2 separate regions of the Homo sapiens genome follow, and region 1 is linked to region 2. The links are contacts of gene promoters, found by promoter capture Hi-C in blood cells and fetal thymus (Javierre and others, 2016). All regions are on one chromosome and are shown on one strand. Each heading gives the region's core, a stretch centred on a gene start or on the middle of the fragment in contact. The rest is flanking DNA. Distances are from core to core; before and after follow the strand shown. Region 1 overlaps OLFM1 (olfactomedin 1). Region 2 holds the start of LINC02907 (long intergenic non-protein coding RNA 2907).

What was found. Contacts are between HindIII fragments. The CHiCAGO score rates a contact against its expected background, and 5 or more counts as called.
Region 1: a fragment that was not itself captured here is called in contact with the fragment with the promoter of LINC02907 in region 2 in 1 of 17 cell types (endothelial precursors); the score reaches 9.1 in endothelial precursors.

Annotation. Positions count from the first base shown.
Region 1 is chr9:135,092,151-135,096,081 of GRCh38, reverse strand. OLFM1 (olfactomedin 1) reads right to left here. Exons shown (of 6, transcript NM_001282611.2): 3 at 63-218. Among named protein-coding and RNA genes, the nearest start is that of OLFM1, 6.4 kb to the right of the region's middle. The HindIII fragment of the contact is 2,742 bases long and covers 792-3,533 here.
Region 2 is chr9:135,341,639-135,345,784 of GRCh38, reverse strand. LINC02907 (long intergenic non-protein coding RNA 2907) reads right to left here and starts at 2,536. Exons shown (of 3, transcript NR_171012.1): 1 at 2,314-2,536; 2 at 1,332-1,763; 3 at 1-491. RefSeq lists an enhancer at 2,783-3,495. The HindIII fragment of the contact is 15,144 bases long and covers 1-4,146 here.

The DNA of each region.
Region 1 (3,931 bases), core at 913-3,412, 250 kb after region 2:
AAGGAGGAGGAAGAGGAGGAGGAGGAGGATAAGGGGAGGGAGAGGGGGAGGAACATGCATACCTTAAACTGCCTGGCCAGGTGTTGCTTATGACTCTCCTCCACCTGTTTGAACTTGGACTCCAGTCCTTTCATTTGGTTCTCCATCTTCTCCACGTACTGCAAGTCTCTCTGGGTCCGCCTGTCCAAGACCTCTATGGATTGAGACATGTTCTGCACCTGTCAAAAGGGCAACAGGTTCAGCAAAACAGCCGCAGTAGGTGCCAGGCAATCTTCTCTGCCTGCTCGTACAGACATTGCCCTTTCCCACACAGCCAGCACACTGGGAACCAGAAGTGGCCCATGCATTATTTACAAGGTAATCGCCAGCATCGCGGACTGTGAGGACTGATAACTCCCCAAACACAGCAAATTGGTTGGGTAAACATTTTCTTTGCCAACCTGTTCTTATCATCAGGGATGCAAATCAGGGGTGTAGGAGACTCAAGTTCCGTTATTCGCTGTAGCTCCAGGCACAGGCTGGGTGATTTCTCTTGATCTCTCTCTCTCTCTTTTTTTTTTTTTTTTGGTAGTGGTGGGTGGGGATTGTTCCTAGTCTTTCTGTTGCAGGACAACATTAGTTAGGCAAGCATAAACACCAGCAGAGAGGAATGGCACTCTTAGGCTGCCCCGCCCCCAGGTATAAATTCTCCTTCTTCCTAAATCTCATTGACTGTCTTGCTGATAAGGTTGATTACTTAAGTGCAGAGTGAAGGAACAAGGGAGCTGCTCTCCCTGACTCTGCATCAAGCTTTTTTCCCTATCTGCTATGCCATCCATCACACCCCACAGTATCATAGGTAGATGACTGCTCTGCAAACATGTACATTCTGAGCATAGAGTCAGGAATCAATCACCCAGCAAATGAAGAATCGCTGTTTTACATCTTTACAGGCAGATCTGAATTGAGTCTAGCCTCAAGATGGAACTTTAATATTCAACAGGATTCCAGGGAGCTTAAAAGAAAAACAGTTTTAGTGCAGCCACCTGCCAGTGCATTTTATTTGCAGGAAACTGGTGTGTGCTTCTGTGCAAATGCATTCGGGGCTGCGGGGAGGCGGGAGGAAGCTGAGGATTGCTGCAGTGGTGTTTGGGTCATTTTCTCAGAATCTAATCCAATTACTAGAGAGGAAGTTACCTCCATGACAGCAAATCTTCACTCCTGACTTTTCTGCTGAATTTGAAAATACTCTCCCTTCTAGGAACAAAATCATTTGGGGATGAGGCTTAGCTTTGCCGGTCAGTGTGAAAAGAGGACAGTGTGGTTTCTACTTCTTACTATACATCCTCCACCCCGCCAAATAAAGTAAAATACAAGAGAGCAAACCAAGCCTCCTCAGTAGAAGGAAAACCACTATTGCCAATCTCAGCACCCCAAAATGCAAGGAATTTCATATCTTGTTATCAGAAAGTAACACACACAAACTCATCTTGAAATTTTAAGTTTGTAAAGTACACGACGGGGTGGCTTCAGCTCCCTCTCACCCCTTCTCTTCCCCGAGAAACGGAAGCATACCTCTAATACCACCTGCCTGATTCTCTTGTTGTCTTCCTCTGTCACTTTGAATAACTACAGCACCTTTTTCAAGAAAAGATGTAAAGTTTGTCTATATTCGTCCTTCAAGGCCCAGCCCAAATGCCACCTCCTCCAGGGAGGCTTCTCTGATGGACTGAGTTAAAACTAGCTGCAAACTATTTGGAAACAACAACGTCACTTTGTTGGCACAATGTCTGCCTAGGAGTGAGCCACACAGCTGTCCCCCCACAGCTTTCCGGACAGGATGCTCATGGGGGGAGTGACACTGGGTCTCATCCACATCTGTAACCCCTGCACAAAGTCCAGTAAATCTAGTGCACGGGAGTAGCTCCTGCAGCCACATGGCCGGAGGAAGCAACAATACAAATGGCGGCGCCAGTCCAGACCCCTCTCTCCATTCCCCTCCTGGCAAAATCCCCAGGAGCGAAGGCCCACAAGTGCCGAGGAGAAGCTGCTGAGCTCATGCTGGCCTCAGTCAGGAGACCACACACGGTGCTGTAGGCTTTTTGCTCCCCAGAGAAGGAATGCTTTTAAAAGATTTCAAAGATTAGACTTTAGATTTAAAAAACAAATTTTAAAGATACCAAGCTATTCAGCTGCCTTAAAACCAAACAATTACTCTCCTATAGTTCTCCTAACCCTGAATGCACTTTCCTTTCTGGCCATGGACAAGGCACAGGCACAGGTCTGCCTCCAGCTCACAGTCAGTCTAGGACTGCAATCACGCACCCATCTCCCAACCCTAGGGAAGGCATTCCTCTGAGCACAGCCCTTCCTCTGAGCACCTTCATTTTCTTGCCTGCAGGATGTGTCTCTGAGGAGCCAACTGGCAGGCTCAGGGTCACAGAGCTACGGGATGACAGTCTATCCCACACCCTACCCAACGGGGCAGCAGGCATTAAGAAGCGGGAGGGGGGCCAGCAACACACAAAGACACACCTGGCCTCAAGATAACTAACAGCTAATAATTATCCATCCTTTCCCATGTTCCAGGCACTGCACTGAGTCTGCTGTGTTATTTATCTCATTTGATCTTTACAAAACCCCGGGAAATGAATAAGTACTATTTTGAGTCCCATTTTACACATAGGGAGACCAAGGCTCAGAGAAGTTAAGCAACTTGCTTACTGTCACCCAGCCAGGAGGCCTGCCAGTTCAAGCTGGACTGGCTCCAAAGCCTACACTCTCAAACCCAGAGCCAAGTGCTTCTTCAAAGAGAACGGAGCCCGTGCCACACGCCTGCCACTATCTGTGTCCCTACAGTGCTCGACCCTAGCTGCATGGAACTACCTGGTGAGGCTTCCAGGGCTGTACATACCTGGGTTCCCCACAGGGACCCCAGGGCAACAGAAATCAGAGACTCTGGAGGTGGGGCCTGGGACTCAGTACCTTGCAGCCTCACCAGGTGGGTTAAAGGTGAAGCCAGGGCACAGAAATACCGACCTGGCTGGAATATGCTCAGCTGTGACCCAGCCCTATCAACAGGGCACATGGGCTGAGGTTTCTGGAGCACCCTGTCCTGCTTCTGCCCATGAAGAGAAAGCAAGAGAAGAAAAGAGAAAGAGGAAAGAAAGAAAATAGCACACAGGCCAGGGTGTGCGGGGGAAGCTGAGGACGGAGCAGCGCTGCCTCCTGCTAAAATGCACAGTGCATTAAGGAGCAAGGGCCCTCTTTCATAGCAAATGGCTCATGCCCTCTGAAAATAGAGTGCCCGCTATGGTATCAAATGGGGCTTTAAATTTTTAAGCAGTAATGCTGTGGCACGCACAGGCAGGAAGGAACATTCCAGGGCCTGCAGTCCCAGGGGCTCATGGAGCATTCTGGAATCCATTTCCCAACTCTCTGCTCTCCCCGCAAATGCCTCCTCCCTGGGCTCAGGGCTCTGTTTTCCCCTCCTGACTCTCGCCGGCCCCCACAGCCCAGAGGCCCCTCCAAGTGCCGCCTCCCCCATCTAAGCTTCTGAATAATTAAAGGCTCAGTTAGGCTTTGGTCTAGTTTGGTGTTAATAAATGTTGGTGGAATGTTAAATGTATCTTACTTTAATTCTTTTAAAATGATTTACTCAGGTGGCTAAAGAAAAAACAAATTCTATTCCTTCAAGGTGAGCGTGCTTTACGAACTAGGCCAGTTGCCCTGCGTACCATGATGCATCCTTCTTGCCCAAGAAACAAGGGTCCTGTGGCCATTCCAGACAGGGACTGGGACACAGAACAGGCAGTGACTCGGACCTTTCAAGGCCCGTCAGAGCTGGGTGGGCACTCGAAACCTCTAGCCCACCCTCTCCTTCTCCAAGGAAGGGGACTTGCTTTGTCTCGAGCTTCCTGAGGGTTTGTGGTTCAGCACCAGGAATGTGGAC
Region 2 (4,146 bases), core at 1,287-3,786:
AATGTCCACCATGCAGGGTGGTGGCCCTCCCTCTGGAGCTGCTCAGACATTCACATGTGTGTGCACATAGCCAGGCACATACAGGCATACGCACACATGTGCAGAAATGCACATACGTATGCATATCCATGCATGCATATATATAGACACAGACCCGGGCACACAGGCACACACATGCACAAATGCATCACATGCAGAGAGACTCAGGGGCATGCGCACACACACATACCCAGAGCTGCACATGCAGGCACACACACACATATGCCCACAAGTACACTTGTTTGTGTGAAGCACAGACATCCACACGCAGGCATATGTATGCATGCACACACACCTACATGTGCAGACCCTCTAGCCTGAGAAGCCCAGGTCTTCCAGGCAGATGGTTGTGTGAGTTTCTCTCTCCCAGGACCAGGCAGACGCAGCATAGAAGCCCTGATCCGTCTGTTCCTAACCCAGCAAGTGACACACAATAGCCTCTCTGTGTGGCCCTGAGTGGAGATGAGATTCAAAAAGAAAAAAGCAGCTTTCAACTTCCTCTACGTGAAAGGTCATCGCCCCCTCCCCACGTGGGGGTGTCAGGCGATGAGGGAGCCTGGGAGCCCAAGCAGGCTCTCGACAGACAGCTGTCTCTCGCATGTGATGGTGCCGCCGTCTTTCTCACCAGCAGCACGACGCTGCAGGCTCTAGGGGCTGTGGGTAGAGACAGACGGCCTGTGCCCTTTACATCCTTCCAGCCAAGCCCGCTGCTGTACTCCAGATGCGGGCCTTGTTTGCCCTCCCCGCGTATCTCTGAGGTCCCCACGAATTGCTGTGTGGCATGAATGTGAGATCCCTGCCATGGTATCCAAAAGGCAAGCCTCTACTTACAGGAGGGATGAAGGCCCTGAGGGGTGGTGGGTGTCCCATCCCCCTGAGAGTTGGGGGTGCAGAGGGCCCCTCTGCACCTGACCTGCCACCTGGTGGTCACTGTGGTGAGAAAGGGGTCCTGGGACTTCAGGCCTGGGGTTTTGGGGTGAAGATGTCTTGTCTAGAGGCACCAGCTGCCCACAGCCCTGCAGCCACCCTGGCCGAGAGCAGATGATCCAGCGAGTCCTCAGGGGAACATTATCCTCTTTGCAAAATAACTGTGGAATTAGAGCTTGATGTGGGCTTAGCGGGTGCCCTGCAGTGTCTCAGTTCATTCCTACCCAGCAAAGTGGCTGACGTGAGAGCGGGGTCTGCACCGACAGCAGGACCTCCCTGTTCACCTGCTCCCGAGACCACCAGGGAGCCATGCTGTGGCTGTGGCTGAGGCTGAGGGTGGGGCAAGAACCCAAATGCACACAAACCTGCATCATCCGTCCAGCACTGGATCCCAGGGTCTCTCTAGACATTTTAAAAGATCTTTAAAAACAGGGAAGAAAGAAACCAACCCCATTGGGGCGGTGGCGGCTCCCTTAAACTTTCAGCGACTGCCATGAGAACAGAGATTTCGGTGGCTCCAAAGAACACAGGCTTATATTCCTTTGCTTTTCTTGAGGTTCTTATGCCGGAAAGATGCAGGTGTTGCCTGCCCTCTTGCCCTGTGAGGCTGTTCCTCAGCCGCCAGCCCAGGACTGGGCGTCCGGCCGTTCTGTCCACGCTGCAGCCCTGCTGTCCGCTAGATGGCGCTGCGTCATGCCCGTGGCGGGCCTGTCTGGAACCCAGGAAGGCCTGGCGGAGTTCCAGGAGGGTCTCTGGAGACCCAGGCGTCAGCACAGTGGCGGGGACGAGTCCCCTCCCTGGAGGGTGTGAGATCCCCTCATTGCCGGGCTCTGGGCACCCAGAGCACAGATTTTGTTCGCTCACTGCTGGAGAAGCATAGCCTGCCTGGGAAATGCCCCCTCCCCTCTGTGGAGCCGGGAGGTATGCATGCAGGCATGTGTGTGTGTACACGTGTGTGCACACGCCTGTGCCTGTGTGTGCCTTGTGCATTCTGTGCAAGGATGTGTGTGCATGCGCATGCATGCATGCACACACCTGCACACACTCCTGTGGCCGTGTGCTCTTGTGCATATGTGGGGGTTCTGTGTGTGTGTCTGGGGACAGGGAGGTATAGGAGGCAGCTCCCTTTAGCCCATTGGAGGCTAGCCCTGTGTATGTGCTGGACTCCAAGATGACAAAGACCTGCCCAGGTCTCAGCCTCAGCCTGTAACTGCTCTGAGCCTCCATTTACTCATCTGTAAAATTGAGATGCCCCAGTTACCTCCCAGGTGTGATGAGGCCCCATGGAGACCATGGGGCGAGAGGGCCCTCCCCACAGGCATGACGCAAAGTGACATCGATACACACCTGTGTTGTGGTCACGCACCTCCAGCAGCGGCCACAGGAAGGACACTGAGGTCTGCCCTGGGCTGAGGCCCATGGCATCCTGTTCATCATGGGGGTGCCACGGAATCCCCCATCCCACAGGGGAGGAGACGCAAGCTGAGAGGCGAAGCCACAAGCCTGACTCTGAGCCCAGGCTGTCGTCCCGGGCCGCGGTGCCCACACTGCCACTCAGCCCTGGCTGGAGATGCAGTGCTGAGGTGGGCAGGTGGCTCCACCAGCCCCATGAGGCTCAGTGGGACCTGGTGGAGGGTGGCACTGGCCTTGGAGAAGACTTGAGCCCAGCCTCTCTGTGCTGGCAGCTGGGAATGCTGAGAGGCAGGAGGAAGCTGGGGGGCACTTCCTGAGCCCCCACTGCATGGGGACAAAACCCAGGGATCCCTCCCCAGGCAGAGACCCCACCGGGCTCGATCACCAGACTTCTGGCTGTCAGCTGGCACAGAGGCCCAGCAGGGACAACCCCGGAGGAGGGGAATGTGTCATTGGGAGCCTGGGCAGCCATCAACTAGTCCTGGCCTAAACGTGGAGCACCTGGTGCCCGGCCCTTTGGCAGGGCCTTCCTTGGGGACAGAGGTGACTGCTGGTGCCTGGACCCAGGAAGCTCCCCCATCTCCCCAGGCCACCAGAGGCCCCGAGTCACTCCCGGGTGAAAACACAAATCCAGGCTGGGGCAGCTGACAGGTGGTTCCCAGGGAGGAACTGAGGGGTTGAGGGGCAGGAGAGGTGGGAGCTGGACACAGTGACTTCTGGGGCATCAGGCCTCGGCCATCTCCGAAGGAGGGCTCCCGGGAGGTGCACGTGGACAAGATTTCTGGACGAGATCAGGCTGCTTACCCGTCTGCCAAGGCCCTGCAGCTTGGGTGTCTTTGCGAACCTGTCAGTAATTGGGGTTGTGTCCAACAGCCTGTGCCAGGCTCCTTGGCGGGGCAGTCCTTGCAGCAGTCCTTGAAGGTCACCTCGAGAGCCAAGGCTGGGCAAAGCGATGGATCCATCAGGTGCAGGGGGAATGGTGTCTGGGGCCCACAAAGGTCACGATGTGGCCCCGCAGGTGCCAATGAGGGAGCCAGGGTCCAGCCACCTGTGCTTGCCAGCTGGGTGCCCTGGTACCAGGGGACGAGCTCCTTCTTGGTTTGCACAAAGGCTGGTGGGCCCCGTCCAGGAGCTGCTGCCCAACAGTGTGCTCTCGGATCCCTAGGACACGGGGGCCCCAGCTGCATGCTGTGCTCAGCCCCATCGGACACTGGGAGCCCCCTTCTATGGAACCAGAGCTCCCGAGGGGATGCTAGAAAAGTGTGGAGCTCTTTTCCTGGGCGCTGAGCCCCCTGTCCATGGTAGGAAAGAGGACAGTATTAGTGATGGGGATGCAGGGACACCTGTGGCTTCAGAGCATCAGCTTGGAGTGTCTGATTTAGTCATGAGACAGCCTCACCTGGGGAGAACTTTCTTCCCATTTTACAGAGGGGTAAATAGAGGCTGCTGTGGCGCCCTGCCCAGGAGCCCTGGCTGCTTCGAGGCTGAGGAAAGCAGGGAGGTGAGCAGCTCGGGGCCTGCCCTGCAGGTGCACCCGGACCCTGGGTGGGCCCTGCCACCCCGCACGCCTTCCCCAGAGCCCTCTGAGCCTTGGCCGGTGGGCGGACGGAGAAGGTTCTGAGGGGAGGAGTCTGGAAAGAGGGAGGGGCTTTGTGAGGGACCACAGGGGAAGTGGGGCTGAGCCTCTGCTGTCCTCAGCCTCTGCTGTCCTCAGCTGGGTCTCCCACCAGGTCCCTTCCACCCGCTGTGGCCTTGGCGTCCTTCTTG